3 separate regions of the Homo sapiens genome follow, and regions 2 and 3 are each linked to region 1. The links are contacts of gene promoters, found by promoter capture Hi-C in blood cells and fetal thymus (Javierre and others, 2016). All regions are on one chromosome and are shown on one strand. The core of a region is centred on a gene start or on the middle of the fragment in contact, and the rest is flanking DNA. Distances in the headings are between cores, read along the strand shown.

Evidence for each region. The method cuts DNA at HindIII sites, captures the fragments that hold promoters and counts their contacts. A CHiCAGO score of 5 or more calls a contact.
Region 2: a contact is called between the fragment with the promoter of CHIC1 here and the fragment with the promoter of UPRT in region 1, in 2 of 17 cell types (non-activated CD4 T cells and fetal thymus). The highest score is 11.9, in non-activated CD4 T cells.
Region 3: a fragment that was not itself captured here is called in contact with the fragment with the promoter of UPRT in region 1 in 1 of 17 cell types (total B cells); the score reaches 5.6 in total B cells.

Annotation. Positions count from the first base shown.
Region 1 is chrX:75,272,466-75,276,042 of GRCh38, reverse strand. UPRT (uracil phosphoribosyltransferase homolog) reads right to left here and starts at 1,958. Exons shown (of 7, transcript NM_145052.4): 1 at 1,403-1,958. The coding sequence starts at 1,788. It overlaps LOC124905200 (a long non-coding RNA gene), which reads left to right and starts at 2,007. Exons shown (of 4, transcript XR_007068269.1): 1 at 2,007-2,565. RefSeq lists enhancers at 1,578-1,787, 1,948-1,997, 2,018-2,067. The HindIII fragment of the contact is 1,552 bases long and covers 867-2,418 here.
Region 2 is chrX:73,561,278-73,564,854 of GRCh38, reverse strand. It overlaps CHIC1 (cysteine rich hydrophobic domain 1), which reads right to left and starts at 1,658. Exons shown (of 6, transcript NM_001039840.4): 1 at 1,275-1,658. The coding sequence starts at 1,570. It also overlaps the pseudogene MAP2K4P1. RefSeq lists a silencer at 1,679-1,738. The HindIII fragment of the contact is 6,151 bases long and covers 564-3,577 here.
Region 3 is chrX:73,940,387-73,943,963 of GRCh38, reverse strand. No RefSeq gene overlaps it. Among named protein-coding and RNA genes, the nearest start is that of JPX, 2.1 kb to the left of the region's middle. The HindIII fragment of the contact is 1,186 bases long and covers 1,400-2,585 here.

The sequences.
Region 1 (3,577 bases), core at 709-3,208:
ATGAAGAAGGGCCTTCATCCCAAGCTAAGGGGGCCAGGCATGGTGGCTCACACCTGTAATCCCAACATTTTAGGAGGCCGAGGCACGAGGATTGCTTGAGGCCAGGAGTTCAAGACCATCGTGGACAATATAGCAAGACCTCCATCTCTACAAAAAAATAAAAAATTAGCCGGGGGGCAGTGCCATGTCCCTGTAGTCCCAGCTACTCAGGAGGCTAAGGCAGGAGGATTACTTGAGCCCAGAAGTATGAGGGTACAGTAAGCTGTGATCTCACCACTGCACTCCAGCCTGGGTGACAGAGAAAGATCCTGTCTCAAAAATATCAATCAAGCTAAGGATCCTGGACTTTATTTGGTAGGCTCTGAGAAGCCAAAGAAGGTTGCTGAGTAGGGCAATTACTGAATCAAAGATGTATGTTATGAAGATTGATTGTACAGTAATGTATGGGTGCATGTGGAAGAGAGGAAAAACTGCAAGCAGAGAAACAGTATTATTACAATAGTGTAAGACAAGGTTTCTAGAGTCTGGTTTAGGGAGTGGCATCTGTCATTCAGTAGCCATTTTTAAAAGATCAAGGCATGTCCCCCCAACCCCTGCCACTAAAAAAGGGGTGTTTTGATATGCTGCTCATTTAAAGTGCTGCCAATAAAGAAAATAGCTGTAGTTCATCATGGTACATATTTCCCTGGAGAAAACCCATTTACAACGTAGGTTTAGAAATTTCAAAATTACATTTTAACATGAAGTTCTGGCTACATTGGTTTGTGGGATTAGGAAGGGCCAAAGGCTCCTTTAGGCTCCCTTTGATCCATTAACTATGTTCTGTGAGTTTACAGTGAAAAATGATAAGAGTTGGACGATAAGCTTTCATGTGATCAAGTAAACCTGAACTCCAAGACTAAAAGACCTTGTTTGCAGTAGCAAATACTAAAGGGTCAGGGCCTGAATAGAATTTCCTTGAAATTGCTTTATTTCTATTTATGAACCTGAGGTGATTGGTGGTAGTGCATAACCTTGGATAGTAACCATTTCTGGGTTATAGGTTTACCATGTGGACAAGCACTGCCCACATAGTATAGGGGAGTTTACCTGCCTGGAATGGCCAAGGAGTTGTCTTTCCTGGGAGAGACAAAGAGCCCAGAGGCTACCTAAAGTCTTCCTCCCCACCCAAAGTGATGTTAGACACCGGAACTTGGAAAGAGAAGGTTGGCGTTCGAGTTACACGACACACACACACACACACACACACACACACACACACACACACCAAATAAAAGGTCTTACCCCAATCTCCAAAGTTTGCCAAGGCCAAGAACACTGTCTCTTAGCCCTTTTACTTCCAATCCCCGCCCACAGCCTGCAAGACCCTCCACTTCCCTTTCCCCTTCCGCTCTTGGCTTACTTGTCACGGATGATGGTCTGTAGCTCCCGTATCTGATCATTCATAGGCAGCAGCTTAAGCTGCGCCCCGATCTGCCGGGAGAGTTCGCAGTCCTCTAGGAAGGAGTTGCCAGCTGGTGCGTCATAGCTGCTACTGTCACCACTACCACTGTTGCCCTCTGAGTTGAGGCTGGAGCCGCCGCAGGCCCCAGAGTCCAGCTCGGCCGGCAGGCTAGAATGGGCGTACCCCGTGAGGAGAATCACCTTGGCCCTGGAGGCTCTGTTTCCCCCTGCGTGGTCCAGGATCAGATCGCCAGGTCGCAGCTGCTCGGGACTTGGGGTTGAGGCAGAGTTTACTTGCTGGTTGTGACAGGGCATGGAGTCCGGACACTGTAACTCCGTGGCCATACACCGGGCCCCGGGCTATCCCCGCTGCTACTGAACACTAAAGATAAAGAGGAACGGGTAGAAAGGACAGATGCTCACGTGCTCTCTCGGTTGCTCCCGCCTCCTCAGAACATCTAACCCTGGCTGTCCTTTCACCCCTAGGCCGCTGTTGGTTTCCTTTAGCACACTTTGGCTCACTCCCGCCCACACCAGACGTACTGCCTGCCTAGACACCCTATTGGCTGCACTCCCCGCCACTCTGCGGCGCCACTGCTTGTTAACCCTTTGAGTCACCCTTGCTACGTGGGTTCCCACAGGTAGCTAAGCCCCCGCAGCGAGGCCAAGGATGCCAGCTTGAAGGATCTTCCGGGGGCCCCTGGGGCTTCTGCATTCAGAACTTTGGGTGATTAGTAGAGCCAGGAAAAACTGGGGGTGGCAGGTGATGATACACAGTTACACACGTAAGGCCCATGTTTTCAGACTTTGTGACCTAGCAGAGAAATTATATCTCAGTAACCGCATCTTCAGTTAGCTTGTCTGCATAACAGAAGGAAGAAGTAAAAAAATGCCTAGCAGGCTGCTGAAGAGGCTGTCCTCTACTAGACTGTTCTAGAAACTGCAGCTTCCCAAGTATGCTTGACCGCCAAAGCTTTTCTTATCTTTATTGGTTGGGCCCCACAGTGTACACGTTGTCATGGGGACTCAGGCGGCATTTCAGATCCACTATCATTTTGAATCTTTAAAGTACTTGGAAAGACGCTTATTTTTAAGTGTATGGACTCACTATAACGGCCTGAGGTAAGAGTGTCTAGGGCAGTACTTTTCAAACATCAGTATGTACCACAATAATTGTAGAGCTTGTTAAAATGCAGGTTCTTACGGCTCATTTTTGAGATTGTGATTCTGTAGATCCGAGATGGGATACAAGAATCTTTTTTTTTTTTTAACTTTTAAGTTCAGGGATATATGTGCAGGTTTGTTACATAGGTTAACTTCTGTCATGGGGGCTTGTTGTAAAGATTATTTCATCGCCCAGGTATTAAGCCTAGTACCCACTAGTTGTCTTTCCTGATCCTCTCCCTTCTCACACCATGCACTCTGCAGTAGGCTCCAGTGTGTGTTGTTCCCCACTATGTGTCCATGTGTTCTCATCATTTAGCTCCCACTTATAAGTGAGAACATGCAGCATTTGGTTTTCTGTTCTTGTGTTAGTTTGCTAAGGATAATAGGCTCCAGCTCCATCCATGTCCCTGCAAAGGACATGATCTCATTATTTTTTATGGTTGCATAGTATTCCATGGTGTATATGTACCACATTTTCTTTATCCATTCTATCATTAATGGGTAGTTAGGTTGATTCCATGTCTTTGTTATTGTAAATAGTGCTGGAGTTAACATATGTGTGCATGTGTCTTTAATAAAACAATAATTTATGTTCCTTTGGGTATATACCCAGTAATGGGATTGCTGAGTTGAATGGTATTTCTGTCCTTCCTTTTTTTAACATGCCTATACAGATTTTTTTATAATTTTTTTTTTATTTCCATAGGTTATTGGGGAACAGGTGCTGTTTGGTTAGATGAGTAAGTTCTTTAGTGGTGATTTGAGAGATTTTGGTGCATCCATCACTCGAGCAGTATACACTGTACCCTATTTGTAGTCTTTTATCTCTCAAGCCCTTCCCACCCTTTTCCTCCAAGACCCCAAAGTTCATTGTATCATTCATATGCCTTTGTATCCATCATAGCTAAGCTCCCACTTATGAGTGAGAACATACAATGTTTGGTTTTCCATTCCTGAGTTACTTCAC
Region 2 (3,577 bases), core at 409-2,908, 1.7 Mb after region 1:
ACTGCACTCCAGCCTGGGCAAAAGAGTGAGACTCTGTCTCAAAAAAAAAAAAAAAAAAAAAAACTCAACATGTTAAAAATTGAAGCTAATATAAGGGAGGTAGCATATATATGATTTAATGTAACATGAACTCAATTGAAAGTCAAAGGGACTAGGTGAGCCATTATCAAAACCAGAGGCAGCATGACATAACAACAAAAGGCAACCTATTTTGAAAATGCAGTAAAAGATAGCATAGTTCAGAGGATGAACATGACACAGTACTCAAACTTCCAAATAGTTATGGTCCAAGCAAATAAAAATGAGGAAGCACTCTTTAAATCCCGGAGAATCATCAACATTTTTGCCTTGTAGCTGTTATGAAGTCCCTCCCCATTTTATTTTCTGAAATATTCAATTTTTCCTCAAGATTTCAATTTTTTAAAAAACCACCCTGGATAAATTTTAAAGAAATTATGCTCAGCTCCCAAAGTATTAATTTCCATATATATTTAATGCCTGTATATTTCATACTTGGGCATACAAAATCCCTTGGAGGTAAATTATCTCAGAACTGAAAAGCTTTAGAAACCATCTACTCCAAACCCTTCATTTTAGAGATGAAGAAATCAAGGCGCAGAAATGAGAAAAAGCAACCTGACCAAGGTCACAGGGCCAGTAAGAAGCAAAACCGGGACCAGCGTCTAAGAGCCCTGACTCAATCCATTTCTTTTTCTACTTTCCATAGCTGCCTCTCATCCTGAACCTCTAATCGAGTGATATATAAGGAAGGATTCGATAGGAAGAATGGATGGATGAATACGTGGGTGAATGAACATTCTATTATTATTCACAAAATATATCATGTTTCTGTTTTGAAGAATGCAAGCCTAGTTCTTGTCACATGTCACAGCAATTGCTGTTTCCCACAAAGTATCAATCTTGTCAGCAAAAAACCCTCTGGTACATCCTGCAGTTTAGAGACTGTTCACTTGCCAGCATACATACAAGAAAGGAGACTCACCCCTACTCCAATCGCTCTGGCTCCCAAACCCCTAACTTCCCTCTCCTATACTCACTCTTTACCTGGCATTGGTGCATCATATTTACATTCTCCTCACTTCCTTCACACGTATCCACCCATGGTTTCCCCATTTAGACCAGGTGTCCTTTCCTAAGTGTACGCCTCAGTCAATCAGTCAACCCTCCCCCACTCCACAGGCCCCTCGATCACTTCTCATTCCTCTGTTGCCAAATCTCAGGCATTTCAAGTCCCAAGACCCCCTCTCGCTTACACAGTGATGTGGCCGGCACCCCGCACTAATACAGGGTCGGGAGCATATCTCCGCAGATGCTCCTCGCTCACTACCCGAGGCGGGGGCGGCGCTTCCTCCTCCTCTTCCTCCTCCTCCTCTTCTTCCTCCTCCTCCTCTTCCTCCTCTTCCTCCTCATCCTCCTCGTCATCGTCGGGCCCAGATACCGACGACGACGACGACGGCGACGACGACGACGTTGCCGCTTCTTCTTCCTCCTCCTCCTCCAGTTCCGAGATGGTGTCGAACTCCGCCATGTTGGGCAGCAGGATGCTCATCACGTGACCTCGCGATCGCCGCCACGCTCCCGGAGAAGAGTTTGAACCTGCCGAGGTGCTGCAAGAGGAGGGGGAACGAAATGAAGAGAAAGAGGAGGGGTGTAGGGACAGGATTTGAGGAGACGCGCCTGCGTGTTGGGCAGACGGGGGGGTGGGGGGGCGGCTGCTGGAGGCGGGGGCACTAGAGAGGAGCAAAGTCAGTGTACGCTTGCGCAGCTCCAAGGGGAGGGGGCCGCTAGAGGTGAACTCCAAGGAGTTATCCAGGTCCGGTCTGCGGGTGCTCGCCTTAATACTGCTCTCTGAGCGTCAGCTACTTGTATTCGGGGTATCTTCTGATTTTATTGCTTATTAATTAATGCTGGGCATTATTAACCCAACTGCAGGCGGGTGAGAGAAAGCATATTGTATAAAAGTAAGGTTAGAACTTTGTCCAAAATATCTCAAGGTATATACCAATCCCTTACGTTTGTTCAGCATTACAGTTTAAAAGCCTTGCGTCATAACTTTGCCACAATCTTGGGAGGCAGGGTAAGCACTTTTATTAGCATTTTACTTAAGAGGAAACTTTTTACTACTTCTCCTATGTAATACTTAACGGAGGACTTATTAACTCAGGGACTGTGCTAAGTGCTCTGTATGTATATCTCATTTAATCCTCTGCAACCCTATGAGGTATGTATCATGATGATTTTATATTACAGATGGGAAATCTAGGTGCAGAGAAAATAAGTAATTTGTCCAGTGTCAGGGAGCTACTAAATGGGAGACCTGGTTTTAAATTTGGTGGTCTCTTCTGATTCCAGAAGCCCAGTACTCTTAACCAAAGGGCTGTACTGCCTGAAGTTGTTTGGAAAGATTTTGTAGAATGGTGCCTCTTGGGCTCTTCCTTAAAAGATGAATCAGAATATGCATGTTTGAATTTTGGAGTGTTTTTTGGGGGAGGGGGCGGATGGAGGGGGTGAAAGGAGCATTCCAACCTAAGGAAACCTTAATTAACATCATCCATTTTCCAGACACTGAGCTAGACCCTCACATACAATATTTCAGTTAACCCTTAATCCTGAGAGGTAAGTATCATTATATCTATTTTATTACATGACAAAAGTGGGTCTCAGAAGTTTAAGTAATTTATTCAAGTCTATGGTGACCTTTTGTTCAAAATTTTCCATTTTAAATGGTCTATCCTATCTTCTTTACACTCACTAAAATGTTGTGGGGATCACATATTTTGCGTATCTAAATAGTGTGCCAAACTGTTTCATACTTGGCAGCAGCACAAAAATCCATATCATTAAGACAGTAAAGTCACACAGCTGCTAAGTAACAGAACAAACACTGTAATCCAGGCATTCTAATACCAGCTTCACTGCTCTTTCTGCTACTCTACGGCTGCATCCCAATCAGATGGTGTGTCTCTGGGGAAACAGACATAGTCAAACTTTAATTTAGGATGAGCACGACATTATCAGTATAAACAAAGCATTTAATGTGTGTGAAGTAGGAAGAAATTAGTTCTGTAAGAGAAATGAATCAAACCATTATCATCAAGGAGTATGTGTTATTAAAATGAAAAGCCCATTTTTATTCAAAAGTTGGTTTATTTAGGGAACTTTAAAAATAAGTCGGAGATCGAGACCATCCTGGCTAACAAGGTGAAACCCCGTCTCTACTAAAAATACAAAAAAAATTAGCCGGGCGCGGTGGCGGGCGCCTGTAGTCCCAGCTACTCGGGAGGCTGAGGCAGGAGAATGGCGTGAACCCGGGAAGCGGAGCTTGCAGTGAGCCGAGATTGCGCCACTGCAGTCCGCAGTCCCGCCTGGGCGACAGAGCGAGACTCCGTCTCAAAAAAAAAAAAAAAAAAGTCATAACATTATCAATAAGCAACAAATTATAACTTTTTGTAGTTTAGATAACTGTATCTACTAGCCAGGAATTATAGAAGATAGAACCTTAAAATATTTTGTATAGCCTTCTGGCAAGACATATATATCTTTGCTTTTTTGGGGT
Region 3 (3,577 bases), core at 743-3,242, 1.3 Mb after region 1:
AAAGCTGCCATTCACTTCTGTTATCTCACTAAGTCATTGCAACATCAGGTAAGCTGAGGACTGATTTTTTCCTGTTTTATAGATGACGAAATTAAGGCCCAAAGAGGTGACCCAATTTTCCAAAAGTGCTAGAATGAGCTAGAACCTACTTCTTTTCACTTTACTAAGCCCCGTGTTCCGATAGATGAGGGTGTATGTACTTCAACCAACTAATGGGAAAACAGAAACCAGAGGGTTTTGGCCTAGTCATACAGTGAGTCCGTCAATGGCAAAACTGGATTCAGAACAAGGTGCTTCCTTTAATTCTGTAAACAAAAGAGTCTTCATAAAAGAGTTGGTAGCCAGGTGTGGTGGCGCTTGCCTGTAATCTCAGTGTAATCCCAGCTACTTGGGAGGCTGAGGTGGGAGAATCGCTTGAACCCGGGAGGCGGAGGTTGCAGTGAGCTGAGATCGTGCTGCTGCATTCCAGCCTGGGCGACCGTGCCAGACTCCGTCTCAAAAAAAAAAAAAAAAAAAAAGAGTTGAGATGCTGCTCTTGAGCCTAAAAGTCCTTCCATCTTCCCTCTTCTTTTATTTATTTTTGTTTTATTTTTTTGAGACGGAGTCTTGCTCTGTCGCCCAGGCTGGAGTGCAGTGGCGCGATCTTGGCTCGGTGCTACCTCCGCCTCCTGGGTTCAAGCGATTCTCCAGCCTCAGCCTCCTAAGTAGCTGGGATTACAGGCATCTGCCACCATGTCCAGCTAATTTTTACTAGAGACGGGGGTCTCACCATCATGGCCAGGCTGGTCTTGCACTCCTGACCTCAAGTGATCCACCCGCCTCAGCCTCCCAAAGTGCTGGTATTATAGGCGTGAGCCACCGCACCCAGCCTCCCTCTTCTTTTAGATTCAGCTCTTTTAGATTCAGTCCTGACACTTCTAAGAGGCCTCTATATTTATCAAAACCTTTATCTCTGTTGTTCCCGCTCCATGAGGGAAAATACACTAGCTGGATACCAGCCCCAAAAGTATGAAAAAACCGAGGCCAAAACTTGTTTGTGAAGCATTATGTGTGAGTGGTGCAGGTTTCTGGGGGAAGGCTTGTGCTTCACCGGTAAGGAAAAGACACTTTAGAGGTCCTAATCCCTTTCCAAAGCTATAGTTTCTCTCTATGCACTAATGTTGTCTCTGGTTTTCTACGAGACCCCCACATAGAACACCTCTTATTCTATTCATTTGCATCATTACTTTTCTGTCTTTATTTTGATATCGTCACCCTCAAAAGGAAGGTAATGATACACAGTTGTATAAAACATCTGGGCATTGACATATGGACATTTTGGAGTAAAACACCAAAAACACCACATAAAACCAGTTACGTGTTCAAAGGTCAGTAATAGAGGTGGAGAGGTCTCTAAGCTTAAACTGTTTCATCTCCTAGGGTTTAGGCATATTTGAGCACATCTTGGAAATTTGTAGGACAGGCACCAAAAACCAATTGCAAAAGGAACTGTTGAGCTCCTAAGAAAGAACTAGTACTAAAAGAGTAGGGAATCAGATAGACAATGTAGGGTAAAAGAAGGATCAAGTCTGAATGTTGCAGAGGAGGCAAATATGACTGTAAATTCTGTCATATTTTCTTTTGGCAGTAGCACACCATGCATTTATTTTGGGGCAGGTACAAAACATCCCTCTGTAGTAATTTAATGGTAAGTAGAAAGGGGGATAAAAATGAGTGAAACCTGCCGGGCACGGTGGCTCATGCCTGTAATCCCAGCACTTTGGGAGGCCGAGGTGGGCGGATCACCTGAGATCAGGAGTTTGAGACCAGACTGGCCAACAATTACAGCAATACAAAAATTAGCTGGATGTGGCGGTGGGCACCTGCAATCCCAGCTACTCGAGAGGCTGAGGCGAGATAATCACTTGAATCCAGGAGGCGGAGGTTGCAGTGAGCCGAGATAGCGCCACTGCACTCCAGCCTGGGCGACAGAGCAAGACTCCGTCTCAAAAAAAAAAAAAATGAAATCTATTGCAGTTTTGTTCTGATGACTCTTGGGACTTTGTCTGTTTGGGAGGAAAATGACTTTTTATTTATTTATTTTTTTTATTTTTTTGAGACAGAGTCTCACTCTGTCACCCAGGCTGGAGTGCAGTGGCGCAAACTCGGCTCACTGCAACCTCTGCCTCTCCTCTCTCGGGTTCAAGCGATTCTCCTGTCTCAGCCTCCCATGTAGCTGGGACTACAGGCGCAGGCCCCCACACCTGGCTAATTTTTGTATTTTTAGTAGAGACGAGGTTTCACCGTATTGGTCAGGTTGGTCTCGAACTCCTGACCTCAGGTGATCCACCCGCCTTGGCCTCCCAAAGTGCTGGGATTACAGGCATGAGCCACCGTGCCTGGCTGAATTTTTTAAATACACATATAAAGAAATAATCAGCAGGAAGCATTATTCGAGAAATAGGCTTATAAAGCTGCCAGTCAATTTTTTTTTTTTAACAAATTGATGCACTGGTTTTATTTGGTAATGTTTCGAATTGAAAAGTGCTAGACCCAGAGACCCAGGGACAGAAAAGCTATATTAATTCACAGCCACGGTGCAAGCTTCATGCCCCTGCCTCCACTCACTCACATTTCCCCTAGTCTACCTGCCTCAATTCCAACTTAAGAAAAATGCCTCCAGAAAACACCAGAGACAGAGTTTGGTTGCCAGGTTACAATATTTCCTCTTGAAGACTGATCTTGGTAGCTTCCTGGACTACTGAACTAGCTAGTACCTATTTCATTCTCTGTGGAAACCCACTTTTCCTCTTACATAAGTAATTGTTCCAAAGGTAAGAAAGCTGCCTCCTGAAAGAATATAAAATCCAAATAGGTGAAAGGAGAGTTGGGATTTTACCATCATCCAGCCATATTTGGCAGGCACTTGCTTAGAAAGGGCTCTTATTTGGAAATTTTACAAACAAATTTACAAAGGCAATGACCCCTGGGACAATAGTTCATGTTATCTTTGCATTCACAATTTAAGACAAATAAATGAGTAACAGTCTTAACAGCTAAAATGATAGATGCTGAGTTACACTAGAACAAATTCATTTGAAACATGAGTTGGAACAAGAGTGAAACCATCTCAAAAATAAAATAAAATAAAATAAAAAAGTACAATTTGCGGTGGCATGTGGGAGAACAGATATAACAGAATTTATTCATTCATTAAGAACTTACATGTAAAGAATAAGACTACACAAGTGGGTGATGAATGCAATCCAGTATTAATCTTCAAGGAGATTACATTCAAATCGGAGAGGGGAAAAAGAAAAAGAATCGTAAGAAGTGTCTTTATCCAAGGCACTGTGCTAGGTACAAGGTAGAAATAGAAGTGAGAGTTGGGGCCGGGCACGCTGGCTCGCGCCCATAATCCCAGCACTTTGGGAGGCTGAGGGGGGCAGATCACTTGAGGTTAGGAGTTCGAGATCAGCCTGGCCAACGTGGTGAAACCCCGTCTCTACTAAAAATACGAAAATTAGCCAGGTGTGGTGGTGTGCGCCTGTAATTCCAGCTACTCAGAAGGCTGAGGCAAGAGAATTGCTCGAACCCA